Regions from separate parts of the Homo sapiens genome. Here all the other regions are linked to region 3. The links are contacts of gene promoters, found by promoter capture Hi-C in blood cells and fetal thymus (Javierre and others, 2016). All regions are on one chromosome and are shown on one strand. Each heading gives the region's core, a stretch centred on a gene start or on the middle of the fragment in contact. The rest is flanking DNA. Distances are from core to core; before and after follow the strand shown.

What was found. Contacts are between HindIII fragments. The CHiCAGO score rates a contact against its expected background, and 5 or more counts as called.
Region 1: a fragment that was not itself captured here is called in contact with the fragment with the promoter of PLPP5 in region 3 in 5 of 17 cell types (total CD4 T cells, total CD8 T cells, total B cells and 2 more); the score reaches 7.3 in total CD4 T cells.
Region 2: a fragment that was not itself captured here is called in contact with the fragment with the promoter of PLPP5 in region 3 in 5 of 17 cell types (naive CD8 T cells, naive CD4 T cells, erythroblasts and 2 more); the score reaches 6.3 in naive CD8 T cells.

Annotation. Positions count from the first base shown.
Region 1 is chr8:38,166,545-38,171,150 of GRCh38, reverse strand. It overlaps LSM1 (LSM1 homolog, mRNA degradation associated), which reads left to right. Exons shown (of 4, transcript NM_014462.3): 3 at 1,234-1,349. Among named protein-coding and RNA genes, the nearest start is that of LSM1, 7.6 kb to the left of the region's middle. The HindIII fragment of the contact is 199 bases long and covers 1,573-1,771 here.
Region 2 is chr8:38,200,871-38,205,423 of GRCh38, reverse strand. All of the region lies in intron 2 of BAG4 (BAG cochaperone 4), which reads right to left. Among named protein-coding and RNA genes, the nearest start is that of BAG4, 26 kb to the right of the region's middle. The HindIII fragment of the contact is 6,490 bases long and covers 1-4,553 here.
Region 3 is chr8:38,267,318-38,271,964 of GRCh38, reverse strand. PLPP5 (phospholipid phosphatase 5) reads left to right here and starts at 2,741. Exons shown (of 7, transcript NM_001102559.2): 1 at 2,741-2,839; 2 at 2,975-3,083; 3 at 3,504-3,594; 4 at 4,005-4,068; 5 at 4,574-4,647. The coding sequence starts at 2,766. It overlaps NSD3 (nuclear receptor binding SET domain protein 3), which reads left to right. Exons shown (of 24, transcript NM_023034.2): 24 at 1-2,261. It also overlaps a transcript of DDHD2 not described here. RefSeq lists a silencer at 2,543-3,022. The HindIII fragment of the contact is 3,801 bases long and covers 2,053-4,647 here.

The DNA.
Region 1 (4,606 bases), core at 423-2,922, 100 kb after region 3:
ATTTCCTTTATTTTAAGGACCCCAACATTAAGCTTAATACTTTACATATAGGGATACATTGGAATAAGAGGCCTCTGTCTTTGTTTCGCATCCTGCATTTTTCTTAAGTTAAAAGATTATGTTTCCTTCTGTTTCAAGGAACTTCATGTTCATGCTAACATTTATTGGATATCTGCGAAATCACTGGATTTGAGCATGAGGAAGAAACGTAATTAAAACACTTAAAAGGATTATGGAAGATATGAACATAGATTTCTCCTTTACTTCAAATAGGACAAGTAGTACTAATTGAAAGAGGAAAAATAATTATTGTTAACAAATTGGAGTCCTGATTCTTAAGTCAGATTCATCAGAGTACTTTGAGGGAAGGGTAGTGGCTATTAAGTTGACTTTTAGATTACAAATATAGTTATCTGTCAAGGTGAAAAAATAGGTTTTTGCTGTATCATAACCCATGGATACCTGCGTTGGGTCAAATGAATCCTAATTACTAAAAGAAAGTTGAATCTTCAGCAGATCATCACATACACACCCACACAAAAAGAAAAGCTGTTTCTTTCCAGAAAACAAAAGTTTTGATCTCTGTGGTTGTTTAGGCCCAAGTTTTCCAAGTTCCTTATTCATTTATATTTTCCTATGGTTTTTTTTGGTATTAGCAATTAACTGATAAAGGAATTTATTTCTCTTATTTCTGCTGTCATTCATGTATTAGCCCAACATAATCCCAGACATCTCCTAACTGGTACGTCTTACTCAATGAAATAGGAGAAGATTATTTGAAATTTTAGCCTTCCCCAGAATTAGAAAGCTTGGGGGCCCGGCACTGTGGCTCACGCCTGTAATCCCAGCACTTTGGAAGGCCGAGGTGGGCGGATCACAAGGCCAGGAGTTCAAGACCAGCCTGGCCAATGTGGTGATCCCTGTCTCTGCTAAAAATACAGAATTAGCCGGGAGTGGTGGCAGGCACCTGTAGTCCCAGCTACTCCGGAATCTGAGGCAGGAGAATTGCTTGAACCAGTAGGCAGAGGTTGCAGTGAGCTGAGATGGCGCCACTGCAGTCCAGCCTGGGTGACAGAGCGAGACTCGGTCTCAAAAAATAAATAAATAAAAATAATTAGAAAGCTTGGAAATCATGTTTACCTAAATCTTTTCAAAATAACTGATTATTGAGTTATGGGCCTTTACCCAGTAGTTTAAACTAAATATCTTTGGTTTTTCCCTATACACTTACAGCAAACTTAGTGCTACATCAGACTGTGGAGCGTATTCATGTGGGCAAAAAATACGGTGATATTCCTCGAGGGATTTTTGTGGTCAGAGGAGAAAATGTGGTCCTACTAGGAGAAATAGTAAGTGAAAACTATTAAGCTGCTGTAGATCTTCATATTCATGCTAGTTAGACTTCTTTTTTTGTCTTTTCAAAAGAGAATAAAAATATTCTCCACATTTATCTGGCTTCTCCTAGGCAACTACCAAATTAATTTAGGGAAGCTACAGAGAATACTTTGTTTCAGTGCCTTAACAAATGTGTTCATTAATATATTTGTTTAATAGCAGAAAATTGACAAAGCTTGATTTATATATGCTGGGGAAGGTGTGTCTTACATACGTTGGAATATTTTGCAGTCATTTAAACAATTGGTTACAAGTGGTTTTTCATGGCATAAAGCTAATGCACAGTATTTCAGGGAAGTACATATTGCCTGTACAGTACAATGTGATATCCATATTAGTAAAGGGGGAAAGGGAAAGAGTAGCTATAGGAAAAGCTTTTCCGTTACCTATCCCGAGAATGGAGTTCAGTCTTACTTGGATCCTTAGCTCACAGCCAGGGAGAGGGTATTTTGGTATCTGTGCCAGAAAGACCAGCTGGCAGGTGAAAGGTTAAATCAGATTTTCTGAGGTATTGTTGCTGTAGGTCTTCGTGTGTGCAGACATACACACACACACCCCTACTAGAAGTACTCAGATTTTTTTTTAAAGTATCTTATTTAAAACCTTTGATTTCATCTTGTTATTTCTGATTATTGGGTTTGCAAGGAAAATAAAAATCTCTTCAAGAGTAGTTGAAATTAAGGGTTGAGCCAGCACTGTCTTCTTTTTTCTTACCAAAAACTTTGGTGTTTGCTTAATTTTTAAAGTTTTTAATACTGTTTTCTAAATACCTAGCCATGTCTTAAATCAGTTTGCAGAAATCTTTAGAGTGGTTTGGTTTGTAGCCATTTTTAACAGCCATTTGAGAAAGCAAGGAGATAATTCTGCTAGGGTTGGGTTGGTTCAGAGACCTCATATTGGAAATAGCTAGAAATGACTAATCCAGACTATCAATACTGCCCAAGTGAAATATATGAAGTATATGAAATATATGAATATATGAAATATATGCTGTGAAATATATGAAATAGCTTTTTCTTACTTATAAAATATTTATAAGTAATACTTATAAAAATTTTTCTTATAAAATATTTTTGTAGTTTGTACTTTTAGTTCAGTGTATCATTTCTTGCATGTTTAAGCAGCAGAAATTGTTTTTTGTTTTTTGGGTTTTTTTTTTTTTTTGGGACAGAGTTTTGCTCCTGTTGCCCAGGCTGGAGTGCAATGGCATGATCTCAGCTCACTGCAACTTCCGCCTCCCAGGTTCAAGTGATTCTCCTGCCTCAGCCTCCCGAGTAGCTGGGATTACAGGTGCCCGCAACCAAGCCCAGCTAATTTTTGTATTTTTAGTAGAGACGGGGTTTCACTATGTTGGCCAGGCTGGTCTCGAACTCCTGACCTCAGGCGATCTACCCGCCTCGGCCTCCCAGTGTGCTGGGATTACAGGCATGAGCCACCGCGCCCAGCCAAGCAGCAGAAATTGTTATCTTCTTGTGTCGCATAAAGGCTGAAACAAGGCCAGGTGCGGTGCCTCACGCCTGTAATCCCAGCACTTCGGGAGGCTGAGGCGGGCGGATCACAAGGTCAGGAGATCGAGACCATCCTGGCTAACACAGTGAAACCCCATCCCTATTAAAATACAAAAAAGTTAGCCGGGTGTGGTGGCGGGCGCCTGTAGTCCCAGCTACTTGGGAGGCTGAGGTAGGAGAATGGCATGAACCCAGGAGGCGGAGCTTGCAGTGAGTCGAGATCGTGCCAGTGCACTCCAGCCTGGGCGACAGAGCAAGATTCCGTCTCAAAAAAAAAAAAAAGTCTGAAAGCACCTAGTACCATGGTACCCATGGGGAGACACTACATGACTGTAAAGTAGTCTGCCAGTATTTTTTTTCTTCCAGAGATGGGGTCTCACTATGTTGCCCAGGCTAGATTCAAACTCCTAGGCTTAGGCAATCCTCCTGTCTCAGCCTCCCAAGTAGCCGGGACTATAGGTACATGCCACTGTGCTTGATACTGCCAGTATATAGGGGAGCTGACCCATCTCTGCATGGTGGGGTTATAGATGATTTTTAAAAATACTTTTCTGAATTTAATTTTGAAGAGGCAACGTATCAGAGGAAAAAACTTAAGTTAAAATACTGGGGTGGGTGCAGTGGCTCACGTCTGTAATCCCAGTACTTTGGGAGGCCGAGGCAGGCAGATCGCTTAAGCTGCAAGAGACCAGCCTGGGCAACATGGCCAAACCCTGTCTTTACAAAAAAATACAAAAATTAGCCAGGGGTGATGGTGCACATCACCAGTCCCAGCTACTTGGGAGGCTGAGGTGGGAGATTCACCTGAGCTCAGGGAGGTCGAGGCTACAGTGAGCCATGATTGTACCACTGCACTCCAACCTGGGTAACAGAGCAAGACCCTTTCTCAAGAAAATATTCACAGATATGCTTCTGTTTTATAGTAGTAAACATAGCAGACATGCTTTTTATACTGGTTACATTGGCACAAAGTTACATCTAAGTAGATGTGTGTGTTTGTGCAGAGAAAGAGGTGAACGTGTTTGTTCTTGAAGTTTAATTGTTTCCTTGGATCCCTTTTGTGAGGAAAAGTTCCCTTTTTTAAAAAAATATGTTATGGTTTGGATGCTGCAGAAGTTTTACAGGGGTACCACTACAGAAACTTGGTTCCAGGAATGCCTGCATTGTTATGTGAATCAGCAATCAGGAGAAATTATGTACCAACCCCAGAGGAATTCATACATAGAAATCAGTTTCTGTAAACACTATATTGGTTAAGAAATCCCTGAATTCTGCCTCAAGGACGATGATGATGACACAGCATTAAGTAATAAGACTGTTGGGAAGAAGCAGCAACAGCAGCATGAATTGCTTAGCAAGTCACATACTGAAAAGCCCAAGAGGCAGTGCATTAGGCCGAGAACACTGTGCTCTCTTTAGCTGCTACTCATGGGTTGGGAGGGCAGGTGGTAATATATACTTTGCTGGGTGCTGTTAACTTTGGACCTAGAGCAGGGCTTGCTTATGTAATTTGTGTGGCTTTCATTGTAACTTCTGTGGTGAGAGTCCTCTCTGACTGATAATGCCACTGCCTGTGAGTTCTGAGACCTTGGCAGCATGTGGTAATAGTATGCAGGGCAGAGCATCTGGAGAAGTGTGTCAGTACCGTCCCAAACTTTTATCATTGAAAGTCATAGAGGAGGGTAAGAAACAGGAATACTTTG
Region 2 (4,553 bases), core at 1,524-4,023, 67 kb after region 3:
ATGGAATCTTTAAGTAGATTAAAGACTATTCATTGAAAAAATTGTATTCAGTCTTCAAATTTTATTGTTATGGCTAGGCGCACAGACTCATGCCTGTAAAAATCCCAGCGTTTTGGGAAGCCAAGGTGGGAGGATTGCTTGAGCCCAGGAGTCTGAGAACAGCCTGTGCAAACAGCAAGACCTCATCTCTACAAAAAAAAAAAAAAAAAAAAAAAAAAAAATTAATTAGCTGGGCGTGGTATGGCACAGCTATAGTCCTTAGCTACACAGGAGGCTGAGGCAGGAGGATCGTTTGAGCCTAGGAGTTCAATGTTACAGTGAGCTATAATCAAGCCACTGTTCTCTAGCCTGGGTGACAGTAAGACCCTGTCTTCAACTAGCTAACTAACTAAATAAATATTTTACTGTTAGAACTGACCAGATATTTAATGATATGAAATAATTATTTTTAAGGTTGTTTTTTTCCTTTTAAGTTTTAATTTTTAATTAAAAATGTTTAAAAACATTGTGGTTATGTTTTTAAAACTTCCTTATATTTTAAAGAAACATACTTAGGTATTTATAAGTGATAAAATGATATCTGAAATTGCTTCAAAATACTCCAAGGAAATACTCCAAGAATAAATACACGACGGCCATGTACTGATAACCCATTGAAACCAATAGATGGGTTCATGTTACTTTAGTGTGTGATTCTCATTGCTTTTATGTGGCTTTTGTTGTTTATTTTTTTTCTTTTTCCCTTCTCACAGGCGTTGTTTTTGTTTTTTTTTTCGTTGTTGTTGTTTTTCTTTAAATAGAAATGAGGTCACGCTATGTTGCCAGGCTAGTCTCAAACTTTTAGGCTGAAGTGATCCTGGCACCTCAGCCTCCCAAAGTGCTGGGATTATACCATGCCTGGCCATTACTTTTTTTCTCCCCAAGACACCCAGGGTAGAATGCAGTGGCACAATCACGGCTCACTGCAGCCTCAAACTCCGGGCTCAAGCAATCCTCCCACCTTAGCATCCTAAGTAACTGGGACCACAGGCATGCACCACCATGCCTGGCTAATTTTTGTATTTTTTGTAGAGACAGGGTTTGGCCATGTTGCCCAGGCTGATCTCGAACTCCTGGGCTCAAGCAATCCACTCGCCTCAGCTTCCCAAAGTGCTGGGATTACAGGTGTGAGCCACCACATCTGGCCAGCCATTACTTTTGATGCTTGAAAATTTCCTTGATTCCTGGAATTACTTCCTGGTTTTGAGATGCCTTCATGAGTTCATTGCTTCTTTTCCCAAATAACCACTGTCCTGACAGATCACAAAGCTGTCACATGCATGTTTACAAAAGAACACAGAATCAGATTATATAACAGCCTTGCAGTTGCTAAAGATGTTTGTTAAGGATGAGCTAAAGATCCTATTTCAGAAACGTGGCAAAGTTTTTAAGTCTTTGTCTGAAAAGCAGCTTGTGTGAAAGTTGCCAATGCCAAGATGGAGTCACTTACATCAGACCCAAAATGGAGGGGGAGGTCACGAAGGAGGGGATCTCATGCACACATGTCTGCGATAAGTATTATCACAAGGACTTTTTTTTTTTTTTTTTTTGAGACAGGGTCTCACTCTGTCACCCAGGCTAGAGTACAGTGGCACCATCATAGCTCACTGCAGCCTAGATCTCCCAGGCTCAAGTTATCCTCCTGCCTCAGCCTCCCAAGTAGCTTGGACTACAGGTATGAGCCACTGCACCCAGCCTATATCACAGGGCTTTCTAAAAACTCACAAAAAATCCCTGTAGGCCCTACTCATCTTGCTTGTCCTACATATGTCTGTAACAGGACTTATCACAAAAAATTCCTCAACCAGGCACGGTGGCTCACACCTGTAATCTGAGCACTTTGGGAGGCCAAGGTGGGCGGATCACGAGGTCAGGAGATCGAGACCATCCTGGCTAACACGGTGAAACCCTGTCTCTACTAAAAATACAAAAAAATTAGCTGGGCGTGGTGGCAGGCGACTGTAGTCCCAGCTACTCAGGAGGCTGAGGCAGGAGAATGGCGTGAACTCGGGAGGCGGAGCTTGCAGTGAGCCAAGATCGTGCCATGGCACTCCAGCCTGGGCGACAGAGTGAAACTCTGTCCAAAAAAAGAAAAAAAAAAAATTCCTCAAGACTGCAGTTTCACATAAGCCATCTTCATAAGAACACTCGCTTAGCAATGAGTTTCCAGTAACATCAGCTCCTACAACAGGCCCCTGTGACCAATGATGTTTGTCTCAAAACAGCTTATATGGACTTCTCCTCTTTCCCTTTAAAAGTTTCCCCTTACTACAACTTCTCCAGATATGTAGGGGATGATTATCTATGGTATGCGCATCTGAAATTGTAATTCTCTGTTTATTTCCAAACAGATTCATTTCTTTGAAGAGTCCTTCTCTCTGTTGTTATTTTAGGTTGACACTTGGAGCACAGCAAAGAAAATACAGGAGTTCCTTGCACCATTTAGAGTCATAAGACGGAATCCAAAAAGGAAGAAAATGCTTCTAGGACTTCAGAACAGATTTCTGTTACATATTAAAGTATGTCATAAAAATGAAGGACTTGGCCAGGCGTGGTAGCTCATTCTTGTAATTCTAGCACTTTGGGAGACCAAGGCAGGTGGATCGCTTGAGGTCAGGAGTTCCAGACCAGCCTGGGCAACAAAGTGAGACCCCATCTCTACAAAAAATACAAAAATTAGCCAGGTGTAGTGGCGTATGCCTAAGGTCCCAGCCACTCAAGCAGTTAAGGTGGGAGGATCACCTGAGCCAGAGGAGATTGAGGCTGCAGTGAGCTGTGATCATGCCATTGCACTCCAGCCTGAGAAACAGAAAAAAAAAAAAAAAGGGGGCCGAGCACAGTGGCTCATGCCTGTAATCCTAGCACTTTGGAAGGCCAAGGCAGGTGGACTGCTTAAACTCAAAGAGTTTAAGATAAGCGGGGGCAACCCCCTCTCTACAAAAAATACAAAAATTAGCTGGGAATGGTGGCATGTGCCTGTAGTCCCAGCTACTCAGGAGGCTGCAGTGGGAGGATCGCTTGAGCCCAGGAGGTGGAGGTTGCAGTAAGCCAATATCATACCACTGTACTCCAGCCTGGGTGACAGAGGGAGACCTGGTCTCAAAAAAAGAAAGAAAAGAAAAGGAAAAAGAAGGACTTAAGAACAAAGCAGAAGCAACTCAACCGAGTTTGAATAATACTGAGAAAACCTCACGAACTTTATTAACAGTTGGGTGAGACAATATCTTCTGCTTCCAGAGATACAGCCTGAGATTGTGAACTTCCGTGCTGTTCACACCCTACTCCATGAATCGCCCTCCATGCTCCTCTCAAGAGTCCACACTATTAGTTAAAGAATGAAGTTCTGAAAAATGAGGAAGGCTTTAGTTCAAATGCTGCCCTAATACTTGCATAGCACATAAACTGCACCTGGCACATGGCAGGCTAATCAACTTGGAAGATTGGTCAGACACCTTAGCAACATTAACAGCTTCTTAAAAAAAAAAAAAAAAAAAAAAAAAAAAATATATATATATATATATATATATATATATATATATATATATATATAAATTCCACACTCAGAATAAATGCATGAAATTACATATTCTTGGCTTATTATAGCTACTTTTGAATGAGAATTTTTAAGATTTATAAAACCAACCAAACAGAAGAATGACCATGTGGCAAGGCTAACCCAAGGAGGTAGCCGGAAGGTAAAGACATGATACTGCTTAATTTTTTAAAAAGGAAACCAGTCATATCTATATACCACTATAGGAGTCTATCTTGGATAGAAGCTAGACCAAGTGCAATGGCTCACGCCTGTAATCCCAACACTTTGGGATGCTGAGGTAGAAGGATCACCTGAGCCCAGGAGTTCAAGACCAGCCTAGGCAACATAATGAGACCCCATCTCTGCAAAATATTTAAAAATTAAACCAGGTGTGGTTGCACGCACCTGTACCTAGGACACTGAGACAGGAGGATCACTTAAGTCCAGGAGTTCAAGGTTACAGTGATCTATGATTATGCCACTACAATGAACTGGGTGGTAGAGCAAGACTATCTATCTCAAGAAACAAACAAAAAAAAGATGATGATAAATGTATAATCCCCATGTGATGTTTCGCCAGAAAATACACATGTGCTCACCTCAAAAAGGTGTATGTCTAGACACCTTTGGGTTATTTTAAATCCAACAACTTGTATGTTGTATCTAAAAACATTTGCACATTATTACTGTTGCTTTTAAAAAGTTACTACTAAATTATAAGTTAATCTTTTTTGAACCTACATATGAATGTAATAAATACTTTTACCTAAGGGGGAAAATGTTATGAGAAAAAGCAATCTTTATCAGTAAGATCAGTGAAATCAGAAAAATTAACATTAACTTATAATTCATGACTATGAGTTTTGTCTCCCTCTTACATTAACTATAAAAGTACACATGCTACTCTCCAAACTGATCTATGATGCAATCTCAATAAAAATCTCAGCTGCCTGGCCAGGCATGGTGGCTCATGCCTGTA
Region 3 (4,647 bases), core at 1,492-3,991:
GTAGAGAATACAATCTCTGGACTGCCCAGGACTTGTTGCTTGTCTTTCATTTCATTTTAAATACAAAGCTCTTCCTTTAGCATTCACCTTGAAGTCAAGGTGTTGGCTGCCACATGCCATGTCCTCTTAACAAGATAAGAAAACAGTGGCTATGGAGCCCTCACAGCTGGGAAGCTGACATTCTATACTTCCATATGAGAAAAAGGACATTGGAAAGTTGCTTTATTTCTGGGCAGCGTAGACTAAAGTTACTTTTCACAAGGCTGATGCATCCAGCCTCCCCCAGTTGTCCAAGTTGGTGCAGACATGAATTGATGAATGGAAACACTTTCCTTTGGCCTAGGGCCACCTAGAATTGGTCTCTGGTTATTTGTAAAACAAAAAGTAGAACTTGCTTCCATTTTCAGATGGACTAGGGAATACTATAATTAGACAGCTTTGCAATGAATTAACAAATACTGAAAAGTTGGAAATGTGTATATACTGAAATCTCACCAACTTTTACCTGGGGTGGGGTACCAGGAGAAAGGGAACCCCCTTTCTCCTGGTAAAGGGTAAGGGGGGGGATAATGTTTACCACAGGTACGAAATAGTCACTTTAACATTGAGACCTCTGCCTCATTGAATTCAGGTTTTTTAAGTACTTGAAACTCTTCAGATTCTCCTTATTTTAGTTTCTTTTTACATTTATGAAGTAGAAAGCATTGTTTTGTAAACTGTTTTGAAAATAAATAGCCTAGTCTCTTATCCTCTTTAGCGTGGATTAAAGGTGAAGTTCTGCAAATGGGAGAGTGTTCACAGTAGATAGCTCAGATTGATTGAACACATTTGAGGAAGAGACTCCTGCATGAGATACCAGCATTTTTACAAATACTTTTTATGTACATTCTTTATTTTGTCATTTTGTCAACCCTCTCCCCAAGCACATCTTCTTTCCTTTTACTATGTCTATGTAGGGAAAAAAACAAAACAAAAAATTGCACTTACGTTACACTCCCAAAATGTGGGTAATCCGTGTCTTTCAAAAAACATTTCTGTTTTTTGTTTTGTTTTGGTCAGTCCATTGCATAAGTGACAAGTTTGGGTGCTTGTGGCACGTATGTATGAAGCGGGAGGGGGATGAGAATTGCCTGTCCTTCAGTAGGCTGTAAAAGTAATTTACATGTAAGTAAAAAGGGAAAATAGAATAGATGCCAAAGTCATTTATTCAGTCCTTAGTTTTCTTATGTGGCATTACTGCATCTGCTAGTTAGTGAGAAAGCACCCTCAGCTTTTACTGCTCCCCTCCCTGCCTGCCAACACACTTGATGTGTGCAAACAGCCCTCAAGTATCTGTCAGATGACCTATATAAGGTATTGAATAAGGTATTCTTGTCAGTTTAGAAATGGACTGGATAAAACTTACTTGGTTGTCATTATTTTATCTCATTTGTCCTGTTACATGCCCTATGTTAAGATAATTATATTGCCACTAATAATCAAGATGCTAAATGAGTATTACAACTGGCTAATATCATTTTTTATATACAAGGGTATGTGTATATTTGGAATTGATATGAGAAACTCATTTGTACCCATTTGAGTGATATTGCACAACAAACACAGATACCTACAGACTCCGTTTTCATTTTCTCGTGTTCTTTATGATAATGATCTTTGTAGATTGGTTATTTCTGTACTTTATCTGTAATAAACTTTGTAGATCCTGTGAACCATTACTTTGCCTAAATCACTTGAGACTTGAGTCTTTAATAACAAAGCATCAATATTCACTAAAGTCAATCTCTTTTGAGTTTCTGTGACTTGGCTAGAAGCTCTTGACACTAAGGGATTAGTGTTAATTTTCCCTGGGGGTGTTCCACTAGGGCATTACTGTATAATGACTTGATGTTGCCACATAGACTTCAAGATATATAATATTTTGAGGATTTTGTTGATTGGCCTATGTTTTATTGCATAGTGTGAAACGTGTAAAGCTTGGTTAACCTGTATATAGATAGCTTATTGTTGACTAGTTATAGTGTATTTAGGGTTGCCTGTAATATTTAAGCTTCTTTACTGATGTGTGTGCTGGTAGGAACATATAATTTTTGTACATTATATTTACTGAGATGTTGCCTTTTTTATTTTACAAATACTTTGGAATTCCAATGTGTTTTTTGCTTCCGTGAGGATTAATTTGGAAAGGTTTTTAATGACATTCCACTGATTTCAGATTTTGCTTGAGATTGACTTCAATAAATTGTCCTGTATGTTCCAAATTAAATATGTGGGCTTGTTCTTTGCCAATAATTTTTTGCTACAACACTCTGGGCAGGAGGCCATCCTGGGTGGGAGGACTAAATGACACAATCCAGCCAACCTCAGGTAGTGTAGCTTCCTGCAGAATGCGGCTGTGTTGCTAAGGAACGAGGATCTGAGAGCGGGCTGTTTGGTTTTCCATTTAGAGGCGAGGTCCCGGGAGAAGGCTGCTCCCCGCGGTGGTGTGGTTGGGCCGTGGAGACGAGCTGCTGATGATGGACCGTACGCCGACCTACTCGGCTGGAACTGGGGCGCTGGCTCCCTGCTGAACGCACCAGAGGGCAGCTCCGCTGGCTTTGCGTACCCTTTGCCAGACGATGCCCTCGGCACAGCCGCCAGGCCGTCTTCCTGGGGAGCCGCCGGAGCGCGGGCAACTGGGAGAGGGGGCGGTGCCCAGTTCCCGGCCCGGCCCTCCCCGCGGAGGTGGCCACGTCAGCGCAGCGTCGCTCGGAGCTCGCGGCCGGATGGGGAAGGCGGCGGCGGCGGTGGCCTTTGGGGCCGAAGTGGGCGTGCGGCTCGCGCTGTTCGCGGCCTTCCTGTAAGAAAGATCCACGGCCGGGCCCGGGCGGCCCCGCTTCCCAGGCAGGCGGGCGGCACGGGGCGGCGGGTCGGGCAGTGGGGAAGCGGGGAGGAAGCCAGGCGACCTGCTCTGCGCTTCTTTGTTCCCCTCTAGGGTGACGGAGCTGCTCCCCCCGTTCCAGAGACTCATCCAGCCGGAGGAGATGTGGCTCTACCGGAACCCCTACGTGGAGGCGGAGTATTTCCCCACCAAGCCGATGTTTGTGCGTGGAGAAAGATCGTCTTTCCTCCCTCCCCATGACCCGGCTTCCCGCGGGCACCTGTGCGTTTTCCACCCCGAGACGGCCTTTGTAGGGACCCACTGCCCACTCCGCTGCTGTGCGCTGGGTTCCGCCTCCTAGGGCTCGAGTGTTTAAGATCCTGATTGAGAGAGGAGGGTGTCCGAGCCTCTTTGGGCTGAGACAACGTTTTCCCGGGCGCTCTGTGCCTCAGCCTGAGGTACCGGGGCCCGAGCCGCACGGGCGCTGCTGTTCACTGGTGGCGCTGCCTGGCGCCCGGTTACGCGCACTCAGAGACCTTATGTTAGCTCCAGTGAGTCCTGCTGTGTCACATCCCTCTTTCCTGTAGGAGCACGAGTGTGGCTTTTTTTTGGATTGTTTTTAACCTCTGACATTCTGATTCAGGTTATTGCATTTCTCTCTCCACTGTCTCTGATCTTCCTGGCCAAATTTCTCAAGAAGGCAGACACAAGAGACAGCAGACAAGCCTGCCTGGGTGAGCGCTAGCCCTTTCGGGCCGGTTTCTTCGTGCTGGGAACCTAGGAGGTCGTTGTGGGATTCAGCCACGGTGAGCCTGTGTGGAGGCCACTGAGTTCTGCATTCCTAAAGGAACTCTATCCCCGCGGGAGAGGAAAATAGCACTGCAGGGACTTGGTTACGCAGGCTACACGGCAGGCAGCCCTGTGCCTAAATGCACTGGGTTATTTGTACCTCAGAAATGTCTTTGGCCTAGTACAAAAGTTCTCGGCTACAAAAGAGTGATCACTGAGGACCCTAATTATTTTTGTGCCCAGGCCTGGTTGGATTCTATCCATCTCAGAAACAGCACGGCTGCTCTCATAACGAGGCCATGACCATACCTTTCCTCCTAGACAGATCCTTTCAACTAATGGCTTTGCTTTGCAGCTGCCAGCCTTGCCCTGGCTCTGAATGGCGTCTTTACCAACACAATAAAACTGATCGTAGGGAGGTAAGTGACAACAGCTAACCACCCCAGCATCTGCCTCAGCCCTTACCCACCAGAACAGAGAGGTTAATGGTGTCCACCACACGTCTTTCTCATTCTTTTCTCCTTTATCTTCACTCTGATTTTTCTTTTGTCATTCAACGCTTACTCCCTTCCCCATACCTCAGTCCTCCAGGTGACACCTGGGCTCTTTTCTGCCTGAACAGCATTTCCCACCAACGGCCACAGCAGTCGGTCAGTGTCCTCTTGAGCACCTCCTGAAGCTGCAGTGTCATTTGCTGTTTGCCCTAAAAAGTAATCATGTGCTGGAATGGGCGTTTTTCCCCTAATTTAAATGCTCACCTTGAAAGGCTTTTCTCTTAGTGTGGTGACTATACTAAGCCAGTTACCTTATTTTGCCTGGGGCACTATTTGACCAATAGTTAACAGGATTATTAATGTCTGCTACAACTGAAAAATAATTTCTGGAGTTAATGATTTACGTTCCAACCATGCTGCTTTCTTCCAGGCCACGCCCAGATTTCTTCTACCGCTGCTTCCCTGATGGGCTAGCCCATTCTGACTTGATGTGTACAGGGGATA